Linked DNA regions of Homo sapiens: all the other regions are linked to region 1. Evidence: promoter capture Hi-C in 16 types of primary human blood cells and fetal thymus (Javierre and others, 2016). All regions are on one chromosome and are shown on one strand. The core of a region is centred on a gene start or on the middle of the fragment in contact, and the rest is flanking DNA. Distances in the headings are between cores, read along the strand shown.

Region 1 (2,909 bases), core at 269-2,768:
GTCACTGCAGTCCAGCCTGGGCGGCAGAGTGAGACTGTCTCAAAAAAAAAATTACATATATATATATATATATATATATATATATATATATATAGAGAGAGAGAGAGAGAGAGAGAGAGAGAGAGAGAAAGAGAGAGAGAGAGATTATTTTTGTACTGCTTAGTAATTAGCTTTAGCACGGTCTCTCCTCTGGGACCTCCCCTGGAATTTCCCCACAATCCAGTAACTGAATAATTAGCATCCAGCCCCACAGAACTTCTCCCAGGGCCCTGCTCCAGGGCTTCCCTTCTGACTGGCTGTGCATGGCACACTGGGAATTGTTTTCTGCCCACAAGAACAAGGGTGAACTGAGTCAAGGAGTCCAAGAGATCTTGGACGCACTTCTCAGAATTCGGAGGGGCTGGGTAAATGCAGGAGAAAATTGATGAAACCACATTGGCCCTGCAAGAGCCTGACTGCTCCTGCACGGTAGCTACCCCTAGCATTAGCGGGGAGTCACCAATGCCTCTTCCAGGCACTGAGCAAGAGGGCGGCATTACAGATGCACTTGCCGTCCAAACAGATCATCTCATTGACTAGGTGACTGCTCAGCAACAGTATCTGAAGGACACTAGGGTTACTCTGCTTGTTTGCAGTTCACGGTGCTGGACGGATGTGTTCCCAACACTAGGTAACAACACCGCTCTCCCTCCTCCGGGAGAAAGCCGCAGCCGTCGATTCCCACCCAACAGGGCCTCAGCGCCTTCCCAGGGCAGCACCCTCACTCCTGCAACCACCAATCACCCAAGCCACAGCATGGTCCCAGACCCACCCTCGCCCCTTAGGAAATGGCTTTCCAATTGTGTTTTCACAGGAGCATGGCCACTGGGCAATGATCTTCACAGGCAGGCTTTTTTTTCCCCCTCTCAACATAAAGGCCAGCAATATTTACCACGGAGTCTTGGCCAGTGTGCACTGCCTGGTGCTGTGGGGTGGGGTGTTTAGGGCCTTTTGTTGAGCAGCTCAGTGACTTTCTGGGATTTCCATGGCCCTGCTGGAGATGGCCCTCTGTCTCCCTTTTCCAAGGAAGAAAGTGACTGGGGACAAGCCACCTGCCTCTTCCACAGGGTGGGGGCGAGAGTGACAGCGAGACAGCACAAGAAGGACCCGCTCTGTTTCAAAGCGAGGATGTGAGTGACTTCGTCTGTGCCGAGGTCTCTTCGTCTCCAACCTGCCGGGCACAGGGCACCCACATGACACGCTCACCCCGTCCCTGGGCCGAGGGACCCCACGTCTCGCGGGTGCCGCGGGGCAGAGAGCGCCGCCTAGTGAGGCGGCGCGAGTTGGACATAGACTGGAAAATAGACCCGGACAGCCCGGGAGGAGGGCGGAGAGGAGTCCGACCTCCGCAGGCAGCCGCGTCCCCGCCCCGCGCTGCCTACGACTTAGGGCCCCCGGCCCATCCCCTGCCGCTGCAGGGCGCTCACCTCTGGGACGCCTCCCCGCGCCGCCTGCGCCACGGTTGGCTCCTCCCGGACGCAAAAGCGGCGCCCTCGCTCGGGCTCCTGAAAACCTCGCGGCCCCGCCCACGGAAGGGCCCGCCCACCTGCCAGGCCACGCCCCCGTCTCGGCCACGCCGCAGCTCAGGGTTTTCTCTGAGGGCTGTGAGAGGCTAGGCCCGGGGAGAGGAGGCAGAGGTTATGCTCCGGTCTCTGCAGACTTCCACAGTGTCTATCGAGATCACACATGCCAGCATTGCCCCCTCCCATCCTCTCCTCATCGTACGGAGGAGGAAACCCAGGCCGAAGACCTGAAGTGTCCAAAAGCACAGCCAGGCCAAAGAGAAGCACCATCCCATGTTCTCCCACTCCCACTCCGGTGCTTCTTCAGGTAGGCTAAACTTCAGGCTAAAATGTGAAGATCACAGTGACACATTCCTGTCAGCAGAATCTGCTGCATATGTTTGGGAGCTGGGGTGTTTGGAAGCTCCGATTTTGTGTGGAGGACCCAAGAGAGAAGACAGACCCTTCCTGTCCTATAAGAACAGTGCTCCTCCTGCCCTAACTTCTCTTTTCCTTTTTCTAACTCCCTCTGCCTATGGGGTTTGCTGAAACTTTCAGGAAAAGGGACGTGTCAAAAGAAAGAAATGGACACCCCAGAGGCCGTGCAACCACAGGGTTAAAAGGAGGTAGCCTTATGAGAAAGCGGTGGAGTGGCTTTCTGGGGTGAAACCCAGTTCAAGGACAGAAATAGCACTGTCTTGAGTTAAGACTGGTGGTGGGGGAAGCCTGGGGGTGGGGCGCAGACTGCAGGCGGAGGAGCTCCCTGCCACCTGCCACTTGGGGTGTAATCACAGAGCAGCTGACACTCCCCACTCACTGCCTGGAGGAGCTTGGCGGTGGGATCGGGCAAGGCGGGAAAGATAGGTGTAAAACAAAGCCTGGCACTTAATTACAGTGCAAAGATCTCATTATAGAGTCTTCTCAGCTCCCCTCCTCGGCTGGCAGCTTGAAGCCTGAGTGACAAATTGCCTAGGTAGGTCTCCAAGGGCTGTATGTAGAGGGATGAAACCACCTCCCTGCCCACCCGAACCCCACTGTGGGGGCTGTGGAGAGGGAGGGGATGTTCACACTCTGGCATATGCAGGGGGCAGTGGGGAAGTCTGTAAGGGCACCTAGAAAGCAGTAAGAGCTGGGAGCCACAGTGGCCCTAGCCTGACATAAATAACACCTTGCTGGGGCAAGCCCAGTGTTCCCTCTTTTGGTAGTGGAACCGAGGGCAAGGTTGGGGACAGCTTGACGTGTGGCACTGTTTACTCTGCATCATAGGTGGATGCTGCAAGACCAGCAGGGGCCTGGCTTATCATGCAACTTTGTGAATATGTGGGAGAGAGGAGCCTTCCAGACGGTGTTATGGCCTCCCAGGAACTC
Region 2 (2,909 bases), core at 123-2,622, 690 kb before region 1:
GGTGATTGAGAGTAGACATGGAGCTGTTTGCAACCCCCTAAACACATTGCCCCCTTGCCACACAATAGCAAAAATTGAGAATTATCATCCTGTCACCACCCAGTGGCTCTGGGCCCTCAAGCTCCCAATTACTTACAGATATCTACAGCAGAGTCTCTTGACCTTCGCACCATCGGGTCAGATAGGTCTTTGTTGTTGGGAGGCTGCCTGCGCATTATGAGCATTTAGTAGTATCCTTGGCCTCTACCCACTGGTGTCACTGGCACCCCACCACTGTCCCCAAACCTCCACCCCTGTTATAACAATCAAAATACCTATAGACATTGCCAAATGTTTCCTGGGGGTACAAAATCACCTCTGCTTAAGAACCACCTATCTGGAAGGCAAATACATGGAATATAAGAAGAACAACAACAGTAATAATTACTAGTACTGCTATCATTTAAAAGGTAAAATTGCACCACCAGCTAATGGATAAGTCATCGGCTTCCTAAAAGGCACTAATTACGTGCTGAGACTTTTATGGCCTTATCTTATTTAGTCTTCACAACCAAGAAACCAGTCTGTGTTGACAAAACATTCACATTACAAGGAAACTGAAGATCAGAGATGCCAAGTAACTTGGCCAAGGGTGCAGAGCTGTCAGTGGCTGAACTACCATTTGAAACCAGACTTTCCTGACTGTAAAATCTGAGCCTGTCACCACCTCCAGATCCTGAGGTCACATAGCACAGATAGTTCTGGAACAGTCCTCACTCTCAAAAGTTCTGCCAGAGTATGCTAGCACTATTCAAATAATATATCTAGATTTAGATTTAAAGACATAAAGACTGTAGCTATCCTCTGTAAGAAATTGACCCAAAGTGTGACTGCTGTGGAGGTTTTCCAATAGGGGAATAGAGCGGGCCAGAGTCTTGGCCAGTAATTGACTGTATGGCCTTTATTTGGGGTCAGTTACTTAAGCTCTTGAAGTCTCTTCTTGTTCATATATAAGATAAAAAATTTTGTCAGAGCAATGGTACTCAACTCTGGCTGCACATTAAAATCACTTGGGTAGCTTTTTGCCATGGTTTGGATCTGTGTCCCCACCCAAATCTCATGTAATCCCCAATGTTGGAGGTGGGGCCTGGTGTGAGGTGGGATTGGATCATGGGGGCAGATTTCCCCCTTGGTACTGTCCTCAAGATACTGAGTTCTCATGAGATCTGGTTGTTTAAAAGTATGTGGCACCTCCCTTCTCTTTCTCTTTTGCTCCTGCTCCTACCGTGAAGACATATCTGCTCCCCATTTGCCTTCTGCCATAATTGTAAGTTTCCTGAGGTCTTCCCAGAAGCCAAGCAGATGCCAGCATTGTGCTTCCTGTACAGTCTGTGGAACCATGAGCCAATTAAACCTCTTTTCTTTATAAATTACCCAATCTTGGGTGTTTGTTTGTGGCAATATGAGAATAGCCTAATACAGAAAATTGGTACCAGGAGTAGGATATTGCTATAAAGATACCCAAAAATGTGAAAGCAACTTTGAAACTGGGAAATAGGCAGAGGTTGGAAGAATGTGGAGGGCTAGAAGACAGGAAGTTGAGGGAAGGTTTGGAACATCCTAGAGAGTTGTTTAATGGTTGTGATTAAAATGCTGACAGTGACGTGGACAGTGAAGTCCAGCCTGAAGATGTCTCAGATGGAAATGAGGAACTTATTGGGAATGAGTAAAGGTAACCTTTGCTATGCCTTATCAGACAGCTTAGCTGCATTATGCCCCTGCTCTAGAGATCTGTGGGACTTTGAACTTGAGAGTGGTAATTTAGGATATCTGGCAGAAGAAATTTCTAAGCAGTAAAGTGTTCAAGATGTGACCTGGCTGCTTCTAACAGCCTATGCTCATATGTATGAGCAAAGAAATGACCTGAAGTTGGAACTGATATTTAAATGGGAAACAGAGCATAAAAGTTTGGAAAATTTGCAGCTTGGCTGTGTGGTAGAAAAGAAAAGCCCGTTTTCAGGGAGGAATTTAAGCAGGCTGCAGAAATTTGCATAAATATAAAGGATCCAAGTGCTAATAGCCAAGGCAATGGAGAAAAGGCCTCAAAGGCATTTCAGAGACCTTTGCAGCAGCCCCTCCCATCATAGGCCCAGGGACCTAGGAGGAAAGAATGCTTTTATGGGTTAGGCCCGGGGACTCTGCTGCCCTATGCAGCCTCAGGACACTGCTCTCCACATCCCAGCCACTCCAACTTCAGGCATGGCTCAAAGGGATATAGTACAGGCCACTGCTTCAGAGGGTGCAAGTCATAAGCCTTGGCAATTTCCATGTGATATTAAGCCTGCAGGTGCACAGAGTGCAAGGATTGAGGCTTGGGAGCCTCCACCTAGATTTCAGAGGATATATAGAAAAGCCTGGATGTCCAGGCAGAAGCCTGCAGCAGGGGCAGAAGCCTCATGGAGAACCTCTACTAGGGCAGTATGAAGGAGAAATGTTGAGTTGGAGCCTCCACAAAGAGTCCCCACTGGGGTACTGCTTAGTGGAGCTGCACAAAGAGAGCCACCGTCCTCCAGACCCCAGAATGTTAGAGCCACCAACAGCTTGCACTATGTGCCTGGAAAAGCCACAGTCAATGCCACCCTGTGAGAGCAACCATGGAGGCTGAACCCTGCAAAGTCATAGAGGCAGAGCTGCCCAAGGCCTGGGGAGAGCACTCCTCACACCAATGTGACCTGCATGTGAGACATGGAGTCAAAAGAGTTTATTTTGGAGCTTTAAGTTTTAATGACTGCCCTGCTGGGTTTTGGACTCGCATGGGGCCTGTAGTTCCTTTCTTTTGGCAGATTCGTCCCTTTTGAAATGGGAATGTTTACCCAATGCTAGTATCCTCATTGTATCTTGAAGCAAATAACTTCTTTTTTATTTTTTAG
Region 3 (2,909 bases), core at 120-2,619, 600 kb after region 1:
GGCTCCTTCCATTAAAGTGACCCCACTTTAGAGCAGCAAGTGGATTTCTGTTTCTTACAGTCCCAATCCAGGAAGGAGGAGTCAGCTGTGAGAACCTGGAGCCTGACGGATGCTTCTAAGTCCCACTGCTCAATACTGGGGTCAGGGAAGCCACCGGACTCCAGCATCAGCAGTCAGGAGCACTAAGCCCTTGCCAACACCGTGCCTGTTTCTCAGAGAAACTGCTTCCATTATTGAATGGTTGTCCTTTTTTAAGCTATCAATGCCAAACGACCCATTAGTAGACCTCCCCTTTCTTGTCAGGATGTAGAAGGAATCAATACAGGAGGTTCATCCAGAAAATCACTAAGGTCCTTCCGACTCTAAGGTTCTACGAGAATCTTTTTTTTTTTTTTTTTTTTTAATACGGAGCCTCATTCTGTCACCCAGGCTGGAGTGAGCGGCATGATCTCAGCTCACTGCAATTTCCACGTTCTGAGTTTCAGCAATTCTTTTGCCTCAGCCTCCCAAGTAGCTGGGACTACAGGCATGCACCACCATGCCCAGCTAATTTTTTTGTATTTTTAGTAGAGATGGTGTTTTGCCATGTTGGCCAGGCTGGTCTTGAACTCCTGACCTCAAGTGATCCGCCCACCTCGGCCTCCCAGAGTGCTGGGATTACAGGCATGAGCTACCGCGCCCGGCCTGAGATTTTCTTTAAAACACAAAATACCAGGGAAATGGTAACTGTGGACATTATACCTTGCCTTCCTGAGCACCCCGAGCTGGGAACAAGGCCAAGGAGAATGTGAGCAGGGGGTCCCTGGAGCATCAAATCTAGACGGTACTAGGGGGTGGCTGTTTGAGAGATTATAGCATCAGTAGTGTCAAGGGTAGCGGCAGCGTCTAATCCCCTCTTGTAGGATCAACGGATGCTATGAAGCGCTATCAGGGGGTGCCACCACTGAGGGCTTCGAAGACTTCACCGGAGGCATTGCTGAGTGGTATGAGTTGAAGAAGCCCCCTCCCAACCTGTTCAAGATCATCCAGAAAGCTCTGCAAAAAGGCTCTCTCCTTGGCTGCTCCATCGACGTAAGTCCAGGCTGCCTTCCCTAGCCTCACCCCATCTGCTCTTGCTGAAGGGAGGCTCCCACAGTGCCCAAGGGAACCCACTGCTCCTGTGTACAACGTAATGCAGCCCTCGTCCACGTAGGGGCCAAAGGAAAACCTCCCTCCACCCTCTGAAGGTCCGCTGAAAATCAACTGGCAAAAGGAAGACTAATACAAGAAATGGCATACAAATGTATGAATGTGGACAGGGGAGAATCACAAGAGATTTCCCTACCACGCATTGGGATACAGAGGGTTATATTCCCTTCCTCTTAGGGGAAGGGAGATGGGGAGGTGCGGATGATTTTAGGGATGTCGTAAATGATTTTTAGGGGAATTCATTGGGCTTAAAGAACATAAATGGTCTGGGATAAAGTCTGTTGGGCCTGCAGAGCAGACAGTGGTTTGTGACAAGTCTGTCTAGCCATGTTGACAGACTTGTCTTTCTTCCTGCAATATGAGTTCAGTTCATAATAACTCATGGAAAGGACCAGACGTCATTGTTTTCATCTTTGGCAGGTCCAGACTTTAGGCAGGTGAGGGAACTTCAGAGAATAGCTTCCTCCTGTGCTTTGGGGGAGAGTGGATCGAGAGACAGAAGGAAAGGGGAGGTCAGAGAGATCTTGAGGCTTCTTCAGTTTAGCATTTCAAAGTGCCATCTCTTAGAGGTATTGGTTTCTGAGCACCCCAGTGTCTACCATTATTGCTCATCACCTGGAAGCCAAGGGTTGCTAGGCAAAAGTCAAGCTGTCTGGGGTGTAATGGATGGGGTGATGGTGCCTCCAGCCCTTCTGTCTTCAGTCCACTTCCCACTCTTAGCCTGCTCTGAATCACCCCCACCCCTCTGACCACAGGTTCCCTGGGAGCCCCTGCCACCTGCTGCCCCTGCCACCTTCCCCTCCATCTGCAGTGCTGTGCAGCCTTCCCCTGCACTCTTGCAGAGCTAATAGGCCCGTGGGAGACTTCGGAAGGAAGAGGAGGAAAGATTTCCTCATAATAGCCTTGCTGGCAACGCTCACCAGGGGATGGGAGGTGGGCACTGTGCCCAGGAGCCTTGGAGCAAAGGCTGTGCCCAACCTCTGAGCCCTGTCCCATCCAGGTTCTGGTCTCTGCGGGGGACAGAGATAAGAAGCCCTGGCTTTTGGAGCCAAAATCTAGGTCAGACTCCCTAGGCAGGAATTCTCAAAGTTTATCAGCAGAACACGTTGAGGCAGAAGACCCTTTCTGCTCCAGCCCTTCTTCCCAGGCTCAACCTTCATCAGAATAGATAGGGGAAAGGAGAGGCTGTGAGGCGTTCTTAAAACAGAAGCAAATTCTGACTCAGACCGGAATAAACAACCGTCCTAGTATAAACCCTACAGCTGGGCTGGGCCAGACCACGGAGCATGGGCTGGTGGTGGGGCGAGGGTGTGCTCAGTGTCCCTGGGCCACTCAAGGCTGTCTGGGTATCAGCCCTGCGCCATCGAGGACCCCCTCCGGCCCTCTCTCGGCCGTGCGCCCTTTCCCTGCGCCATCGAGGACCCCCTCCAGCCCTCTCTCGGCCGTGCGCCCTTTCCCGCCCTTCCCAGCCTGCAGAAATCCGTGGATGCGCTATTCACACGGGAATGCCTGTGCTCGTTCCGCGAGAGGGTTGCATTCCGCCTTTTCTCTGGTATTCTCGGCGTTCAAGCATTTGAACGGGGTAGGAAAGGTTCTCCAAGTGCAAGAAAGCGCAGCCCTGAGCCTCCCACCCCAGGCCTCGGCCGCTGCGCTAGTGCGTCCGGCGGTCCCGCCCGGCAGTAGGACAGAGGGAGCGAGGGAGTCCGGGAGGAAGGGAGAGC
Region 4 (2,909 bases), core at 117-2,616, 570 kb after region 1:
TTCCTTTGCCTCAGCAGAAGAGCATTCTGATTCTCTCTGCCATCCCCAAAACTGACAGGAGCAGAGAGAAACAAGGCAGAGGCATGAAGGGAATGTCCTCTGCGGCAGATGGTGCTTCCGGAAGAGCTCCCACAATCTGAGCTAGAATGAACAGGGGCTAGATCCAAGTCTCATATAGGCATACTTCTGCTTGACAGAGTGGGCATGCCGAGGGCCGTTGGGTGGAGGCAGGCGTGTGCAACCCAAGCAGACATGAGACGCAGCTCCTTCAAGGCAAGGTTGCCTGAGCCCAGAGAGGCTCAAATTTGTGCCCCAACTTCCTCTGTGGCTTTTGGGTGGGGCTCTTCAGAATCGAAACACACTCAGAGGGCTGCTGAAAGGGCTAAGAAGTGTTCAAGGTTGGCTTCCATCAGGCTGCTCATGACAATGGCCCCTGAGGTTTTAACACCCTTGAACGCTTGGTACTAAATCAATTAGAGGCAGGGCAGGAGCAGAAAGAGTTGGCGCATTTGATCAGTAAGTTCCAATGCCAGTGCTGTCTATTATCTGTGAACTGTGTTAACTTTGGACACGTCACTTCACCTTTTTGAGCTGTTTCCTCGTCTGTAAAAGGGGGATAATACCCATTCCATGAGGTAAAGCTTTGAGCACAGTCTCTGATGTAAGCAGGTACAGAATATATAGATGCTGTAAGTTTCATGGTCCCATGGAAGAATTCAAAAGGGTTAGATCCCGCCTGCCCTCAAAAGGGTATGTGTTAGGAAATCAGAGTAATACCTAAGTAGTAAATTGCAGAGTCCAGAGACTCTGGGACTCAGACTTGAAGGGATGAGTGAGGATTGGACTAGGACGACTTCACGGAGGAGGTGACAATGAGCCTCAAGGTATGATGCAATATGGAAAAGGAGGGAAGAGAGTGGGAAAGGAAGGAATTTCATGCAAGCAAAACAACTTGCATGCAGTAACAGAGGAGAGAGGATGCTAACCCAGTGGATAGGGTGGCTCTAGAGTGTGGATGGTCTCCACGTCTGGCAGAAAAGGCTGGACTTGCTGCTGTGGCCCCCGGGACACAGCACAATGAAGGAGGCTCCAGGCAGTCCAGAGTGTGCAGGGTCCAATGCCTGCCCTTCTCAGACAGGACCACCCATCCACCCATCAGGGCCCAGGGAGCAGGGGTCAGAAGGACCTCATGACACAGAGTTCTGACTGTGATGACACACTTTCCCCAGAGGGGAGGGGAAGGGGAGAAGGGGTTAGAAGACCCCACTGAGAATGGAGGCATCCTAGCTGCAGAAGCACCTGGCTGGTAGGCTAACAGCACTTTGTGGGTCTCGTTCCCAGGAGATCTGCGCTGACCCCCAGTTTATCATTGGAGGAGCCACCCGCACAGACATCTGCCAAGGAGCCCTGGGTAAGTGATAGATTCAGAGCAAGCTGGGGGATCTTGTCTGTAAGGCTGTGGGTGGAAGAGATGAGGGACAACCTGTGGCTTCTCTCCCTTCCCAAGCAGCTTGGCAATTTCTATTTGCAGAGAAGCTCCATGGAATTTCTTGGCCCTAGCGGGCAATGATTCTACCCTCAGCCCCATGCTGGGGCACACAAATGAGGCCTCCTGTGTCCCCTGCACAGGGCTAGTTGCTGAGGTTACAGAGATGCTGCCACTAGGAGGACCAGGGGGCTTCTGGATGTCAGCCACCCCTTGGTATGCACCTCCTGGAGCCAGCATTACCAGTGGTTCACGAAATACACTCTGGGCAGAGGACTAGGTGGGAGGACTCCCCCAGACCAATGACAGCACTGAGACATCAGTTCTGTGAGGTTCAGGAACCAGGGAAGGTGACTCAGTGTAAAGAAAGAGGAAACTCTAATGCTCGCTGCTGAAGGAAGTTATAGTACCAGGGCATTCTCAGTGTTTGCAAGACAAGCTCACCATGGTATCACAGTTGTAACGCTCATTTAAGTAAAATGAACTGGAGTAGCTGAATTGTCCAAAACCTTGCTTTCTGGAGCCGAGTTCAGATTTGTTTCTGGAGATAGTCCTTGTTGAAGGTTTCAACCCACAGGGTTCTCCACCTTTAGTATGAAAATTCCCAAAGCTTCTAGGAAGTCCCAGCAATGGGGCCTGGCGCTGTTATCTAAGATTCTCATAGAATCTGCCCTCAATGTTCTTTTACTCATAATAAATGTGGGCCTATAATTACTAGAGCAGATTATTTGCTCTGATAAACCAAAAATCTATTTTCTGCCATCAGCCTCAGCTGGCTGGCTCCCCAGACAAGTTCATCAGTAGCAAAATCAGTCAACTAGAGTTGTACCTCCTGTCCTCACCCACCTAGCAGAGGTTCTGTTACTCATATACTCCTAATACCAGCTGATAACAGCTAATATGTATCTCTAAGGCACCGTGATTATTCCCATTTTATAGATGAGGATGCAGAGGTCTTCCTACAGCTAAAGTGGTGGCTGGTACCCCTGACCCCAGGGTATGTTTAATTCCTGAGCTAGACTCCCTAAGACGGGACCTGGAAAATTTTCTAGCCCTGAGGAATGTCAGAGCATCATGTGAATCATTAGGACAGACAGACTGTGAGGAAGAACATGAGCTGGGCGGGAAAGTTTGTCTGAGCTCAGGCTCTGCAGATTCCTGAGATGCCAGAGCACATTCTTACCTGCAGAAAACACTCCTTTCATTTCTTTTCTTCTCGCCCCACAAAAGACAGAAGATAGAGGTCCTTGAGCACCCAAGGCGGATCCTCCAGGAAAATCTATTCATTAGAGAAAATGGAATTGATGGAAACTTTGACCAACCCCGGGGGCTTTAGAGAATCCAGAAACAGCCGGCGCAGTGGCTCACATCTGTAATCCCAGCACTTTGGGAGGCCGAGGCAGGCAGATCACCTGAGGTCAGG
Region 5 (2,909 bases), core at 252-2,751, 540 kb after region 1:
TTTCCCACTCCTTGTATCCTCTAGCAACCATCATTCTACTCCTAGACTACTTTGTGACTCAGTTTCTCTGTCACTTAAGAGAAGAGAGGCTCCATTGCTGACTGCAGGGATTGCTTCTGTATATGCAGGCCTTCTTGCATCTATAGGATTAGGTTTACTGCAGGGAAAAAAGGTAAGAGAAATATACATCATATGGGTTTTTGGAGGAAGAAAAGAGGCGACAGCACAAAATGGATGAGGTTTTCGTGTTGGGTGTCCTGCACACAGGACTCAGCAGCCCTGCCATGTATCTATCTGCCCAACTCTTTCCCATGGAGTTCATCTTGTGGGCCACTTCCAAATTATAGATCCACAGGCAAGTTTCACAGCTCTGTCGCTGTCACCTGTGGCAAGCTTCTCATAGTGCCTCTGTGGCTTAATGTCATGAGCCCCTCCATTGTGAGCATTCTGTTTAGGGTCCTGCACCATCACAGCCTGGCAATGAGCTTCAGATGTTTTGCCATAACCTTAGATTTAAGTCATCAAGCAGCAGGACCAAGACCTATCATGCATTTACTTTTGTTTTTGGCTTAATTTGAGTTGGTTTTTTTCCTTGTACAAAAAGAATCTCTGTACACAGACTCCTATTAATTTTTTTAATTAATAGTTTTATTTTTCAGAGCAGTTTTAGCTTTACAAAAAATTGAGAAGAAAGTAAGATGTTCACACACACACAGCTTCCCAATTATTAATGTCTCACACTAGTGAGGTACATTTGTTAAAATCGATGAACCTATGTTGACATGTCATTATCACTGTAGTTTACTTTAGGGTTCCCTCTTAGTATGGTATATTTTATGGGTTTTGACAAATATATGATAATATGTATCCACCATTATAGTATCAGACAGAGTATTTTCACTGCCCTAAAAATCCTCTGTGCTTTGCCTGTTCATCTACCCCTCACCAAACACCCAGAAATCTTTTTTTTTTACTGTCTCCATTGCTCTGCCTTTTCCAGAATGTCATATATTTGGAATTATATGTTATGTAGCCTTTTCAGACGGACTAGTGATATGGTTTGGCTGTGTCCCCACCCAAATCTCATCTTGAATTGTAGCTCCCACAATTCCCACATGTTGTGGGAGGGACCCGGTGGGAGGTAATTGAATCATGGGGAAAAATGATTTGAGCATCTATCATCACAAACAACCCCATTCTATCTCTAATAATGACTTTTGCGGGTCTTTGCAGTGCTGTTCTCATGATAGTGAATCAGTCTCACAAGATCTAATGGTTTTAAAAATGGGAGTTTCCCCGCACAAGGTCTCTCTTGTCTGCTGCCATATAAGATGTGCCTTCACCTTCTGCAATGATTGTGAGGCCTCCCCAGCCATGTGAAACTGTGAGTCAATTAAACCTCTTTTTCTTTATAAATTACCCACTCTCAGACATGTCTTTTTCAGCAGCATGAAAATGGACTAATACAACTTATTTCACTTAGTAATATGTATTTAAGTTTCTTCAATGTCCTTTCATAACTTGATGGCTCCTTCCTTTCTTGCTTTCTTTTTTTTAATTTTAACTATACAATAAAGCACTAAGCTAAAGAAATTAAACTATGGAATATCTATCTGCTGGCTGGTGGGGAAAATGTGAGGAGCCTGGAGCTTCCTGGAAACACACAATTTCCTCCACAATCTTCGCTGACCTTCCCTTGAGTTATCCCTCTTCCTTTTTAACATTCCTCTTGATTTGAGCCTCTATCATCACAAACAACCTCATTCTAACTCTAATAATGATTTTTGCCTTAAAGTATTATGTCTGATTTTAATATAGTTATGCCAGCTTCCTTCTCATACTGTTCACATAGTATATCTTTTTCCATCATTTTATTTTCAACCTTTCTATATCTGTATCTTTATGCATCATTCTGTTAATATATATCAATCCATCAGTGACTGATTCTCTGATTCCCTAATGTTTAAGCAATTTCCTTTTTTTTTTTTTTTTCTTTTTGAGACAGGGTCTTGCTCTGTCACCCAGGCTGGAGTGCAGTGGCACGATGATGTCTCACTGCAGCCTGAACGTCCCAGGCTCAAGTGATCCTCCCACCTCAGCCTCCCAAGTAGCTGGGATTACAGGCACACATTACCATACCAGGTTAATTTTTTTTTAATTTTTTGTATAGACAGAGTCTCACTATGTTGCCCAGCTGGTCTCAAACTCCTGGCCTCAAGCGATCCTCCCACCTTCACCTCAAAGTGCTGGAATTACAGGCGTGAGTCACCACACGAGGTCAATCTACTATTCTTGACCTCAGCTATTGGCTGTGATATATTATCATATATAGAGAGCTGGATTTGGTTTGCTACTGTTTTCTTCAGAAGAGAAAGCAGGATGTTGCTCAGCCTGGGAGGGTCATGCCCTTGGTTGAGTTAGCTCTCTGCAACTGAAACAAACTCTAAAGGATTTGAGACCTGGAAACTTTCTGCTAATCCCACCTCCCAAAGTTGGGGCAGTTCACATCCAATGACTGATAGAAGTAAGGTATAAAGACACAGACATTTTGGCTTAATCTAGCATCTCTGATGGGCCGTGTATGGTCCAGAACATCCCATAGGAATGGCCAAAGCTTTGTCACAATTGCATCACATTTTGACTTTTCCCTCTGCCCAAGACTGCTTCCTCCTCCTCTCATCCACGGATGTTGATTCCTAATAAATACTCTGTACACCAAGCACAGTCTCGGCATCTACTCCTGGAAAACCAGCAACAAGGTCAGCAGGGCTAGCTAGCTTCATGGGCAGCAACCTATGCAGTCATAAGGGCCCTGCTCCAAGAGGGGCCCCATGCTTAGGTTAATACTCTTGTCAACTAACGAGTGGTGAGGTTCATAAATTTTGAAATAAGAGGTTTATTTCTCATGA
Region 6 (2,909 bases), core at 203-2,702, 530 kb after region 1:
TGTATCTATACATGGCTCCTCTCAGTCAAAAGGATCAAGGCTGTATTATCCCCTTAGAAAGGAAGATAAATCACTCTGGTTGCACCCAGCGGTCCAAGTGTTCTTTTCAGATGATTAAAGTTTGCAAAGCTTGTTGTCTTGCATAACTATAACTTCAGGGAAAAGATGGGTGCAAGCTAACTGCAGAATTCTCTCTCCTGGGCCTGACAGTTTCAGAATGCTAAGGCAAGCAGGGGTTGAATCCAGTGTCAAGAGGATTACAGAGTTCTCATACATTGCTGGTGGGAATGTAAAATGGTGCCGCTGTTTTGGAAAGCAGTCCAGCAGTTTCTCAAAATGCTAAACATAGAATTACACAGTAACTCTGAGTAACATCCCACTTCAAGGATTGAAAGAGAATTGAAAGCATATGTCTACACAAAAACGTGTACATAAATGCCCATAGGAGCATTATTCATAATAGCCAAAAAGTGGAAACAACCTAAATGCCCATCGATGGACAAATGGATAAACAAAATGTGGTATATGCATATGATGGAATATTATTCAGCCATAAAAGGAGTCCATAAAAGGAGCGAGATACTGTTACATGCTACAACATAGACGGATCTTAAAGACATGCAAAGTAAAAGAAGCGAATGACAAAAGGCCATACATTGTATAATTCCAGTTTTATGAAATGCCTAGAATTGCAAAGCCATAGGGAAAGAAAGCAGAGTCGTGGTTGCCAAGGATTGGGAAGTGGGGCTGACTCTAATAGTTACAAGGTTTCTTTTTTGGGGTGATGAAATTATTATGGAATGAGATGGTGGTGATAGTTGCACAACCAAAAGTCACATTTTAGGCCAGGCACAGTGGCTTACACCTGCAATCCCAGCACTTTGTCAAGCTGAGCTGGGAGCATCGCTTGAGCCCAGGAGGTTGAGGCTGCCGTGGGCTATGGTTGCACCACTGTACTCTCATCTGGATGAGCAAGCGAGACCTGTCTCAAATAAATAAATAAATATCACACTTTAAATGTACACTTTGGCGATGTTTATGTTATGTGAGTTATATCTCAATTTTAAAATTGAAAAGGAGAAAAAAAGGCATTACAGAGGGGAAGGCTGGCTATGATACAAGCATTGGTAGGTGGCCTCTAAGGAAGAGATTGGCTTCCCATCTGCCCAGGATATCAAGTGCCCAGCACATGCAAACAGTTCTAGAGCTGTAAGAGCAAACCCTACCTAACCAGAAGCCTGGATGAGTTGAGATGTGTGGGCTCATTCTCTCTCCAGGTCTGCAGGATCGCTCATGGCATCTTAGGGGTCACAGCTCAGGCCTTCATCCTGGCAGGAAAGGGCTCAGTCAAGGCCAGTTGGGAGGCCAGCTGAGACTGCCCCCTAGAGGCCTACAGATCCTGTTGACCTGGTATGACTAAGTAATGTGGCAAAAACTCACATTTGAATAGAATGCAAGGTCTACATAGCACTTTCCTGCCATGGCTGCTTAGAGATTCACGACAAGTCTGTAAGAAAGATCATATTGTCAGGCTACCCCAAGGTCACTCAAGTAGCAAACTTGAGCCCAAGTCTTCTGATTTTAATTCCCATGCTCTTTTTAAGGCACGCTACCCACACATACCAACAGGGAGATGCGACCTGGGCAGTAGGCTGTGAGATGTGATGCCTAAAAGGAAGAAATCCAATGACTCACTCAGCCCTCCAATCTGCAAGCCATCTCTGTGCCTCACTCAGATCTGCAAGCCTCACTCAGATCTGCAAGCCGTCTCTGTGCCAACACTCCACTGGGCAGGGGTCAATGCTCGTAGGAGGATAAAAGGACAAATAGAGGCCAGACGCATTTGTTCAGGCCTGCAATCCCAGCACTTTGGGAGGACAAGGCAGGCAGATGACTTGAGCCCAGCAGTTCCAGACCAGCCTGAGCAACGTGGTGAAACCCCATCTCTATAAAAATTTCAAAAAATTAGCCAGGCATGGTGGCAGGCACCTGTAATACCAGCTACTCAAGAGACTGAGGCAGAAGAATTGCTTGAACCCAGGAGGTGGAGGTTTCAGAGAGCTGAGATCGCGCCACTGCACTCTGGCCTAGGTGACAGAGCAAGACCTTGTCTCAAGAAAAAGAAAAAAGAAAAGAAAAGAAAAAATCGAAAGACAAATAGACACCATGCCTGCCCACAAAGAACTTCCATGCAGTGGAAAGACCAGGCAATGCTCAAAGAAAGAGTGGTTGATTCTGAGGATGATGAGTGATAAGGAGGGCTTCATGGAAGAGGTGGCCTTCCAGTTAGATCTGTAGGATAAGGTGCTTGAAGGATGATGATTTTGAAAGAAGGCAGTGTAAAAAGGGCATTGGAGTCAAGGGGAACAGCAAGAAAATGGCAAGAAGGAACAGCTCTGCACACAGTGCCAACAGAATATTAATTATCTAGAATGAGATCATTCTAGATCACTCACTCCTGGAGTGAGGCAGGAGGCAAACAACAAGAGGAAAAGACACTGGGGGCCTTGAATGCCATCCTAAATGGATGTGGACTTCTTCTCTATAGTTAGGGTGCAGTTGCTCTGAAACAAGCAAGAATCGATGATGGCTTAATTCAGGTAGTGGCACTGGGGCTGGGCAGGTAGGGAGAGGAGTTCCCAAGTTTACCTCCTCTGTGAGTCCCAGAGGCTGGGGATGAGTGTGGAGGAAGGGAAGACACAGCCAGGATACCTCTTGTGATCTTGTGATTTAATAAGAAATAAGTATTTTGGTCTTTGTCCTCAGTTCCTGGCACAAAGCTTCTAAAATCTTTGTAATTTCCTGGGTGATAAATGTGCTAGGAGCATCTTTTGTTGTAATATTTGGTCTTTGACTCTAGTTCCTGACAGAGCTCCTAAATCCCTGGAATTTCCTGGGAATAGAAGAGT

Evidence for each region. Contacts are between HindIII fragments. The CHiCAGO score rates a contact against its expected background, and 5 or more counts as called.
Region 2: a fragment that was not itself captured here is called in contact with the fragment with the promoter of TLR5 in region 1 in 1 of 17 cell types (total B cells); the score reaches 6.2 in total B cells.
Region 3: a fragment that was not itself captured here is called in contact with the fragment with the promoter of TLR5 in region 1 in 1 of 17 cell types (naive CD8 T cells); the score reaches 7.6 in naive CD8 T cells.
Region 4: a contact is called between a fragment that was not itself captured here and the fragment with the promoter of TLR5 in region 1, in 2 of 17 cell types (naive CD4 T cells and non-activated CD4 T cells). The highest score is 5.8, in naive CD4 T cells.
Region 5: a fragment that was not itself captured here is called in contact with the fragment with the promoter of TLR5 in region 1 in 15 of 17 cell types (naive CD8 T cells, total CD8 T cells, megakaryocytes and 12 more); the score reaches 21.1 in naive CD8 T cells.
Region 6: a fragment that was not itself captured here is called in contact with the fragment with the promoter of TLR5 in region 1 in 12 of 17 cell types (endothelial precursors, M1 macrophages, naive CD4 T cells and 9 more); the score reaches 14.6 in endothelial precursors.

The regions. Positions count from the first base shown.
Region 1 is chr1:223,141,730-223,144,638 of GRCh38, forward strand. It overlaps TLR5 (toll like receptor 5), which reads right to left and starts at 1,519. Exons shown (of 6, transcript NM_003268.6): 1 at 1,467-1,519; 2 at 1-34. It overlaps LOC124904522 (a long non-coding RNA gene), which reads left to right and starts at 1,626. Exons shown (of 2, transcript XR_007066895.1): 1 at 1,626-1,869. RefSeq lists a silencer at 1,308-1,677. The HindIII fragment of the contact is 3,848 bases long and covers 1-2,909 here.
Region 2 is chr1:222,455,819-222,458,727 of GRCh38, forward strand. No RefSeq gene overlaps it. Among named protein-coding and RNA genes, the nearest start is that of TRT-TGT2-1, 7.7 kb to the right of the region's middle. The HindIII fragment of the contact is 5,503 bases long and covers 1-2,909 here.
Region 3 is chr1:223,746,095-223,749,003 of GRCh38, forward strand. CAPN2 (calpain 2) reads left to right here. Exons shown (of 21, transcript NM_001748.5): 5 at 903-1,071. Among named protein-coding and RNA genes, the nearest start is that of CAPN2, 35 kb to the left of the region's middle. RefSeq lists a silencer at 2,013-2,307. The HindIII fragment of the contact is 6,197 bases long and covers 1-2,909 here.
Region 4 is chr1:223,716,421-223,719,329 of GRCh38, forward strand. It overlaps CAPN2 (calpain 2), which reads left to right. Exons shown (of 21, transcript NM_001748.5): 2 at 1,342-1,411. Among named protein-coding and RNA genes, the nearest start is that of CAPN2, 5.3 kb to the left of the region's middle. RefSeq lists enhancers at 2,004-2,173, 2,339-2,909. The HindIII fragment of the contact is 1,455 bases long and covers 640-2,094 here.
Region 5 is chr1:223,686,102-223,689,010 of GRCh38, forward strand. The region is part of intron 2 of LOC105373281 (a long non-coding RNA gene); the gene reads right to left. Among named protein-coding and RNA genes, the nearest start is that of CAPN8, 22 kb to the left of the region's middle. The HindIII fragment of the contact is 2,221 bases long and covers 392-2,612 here.
Region 6 is chr1:223,669,281-223,672,189 of GRCh38, forward strand. No RefSeq gene overlaps it. Among named protein-coding and RNA genes, the nearest start is that of CAPN8, 5.0 kb to the left of the region's middle. The HindIII fragment of the contact is 2,651 bases long and covers 128-2,778 here.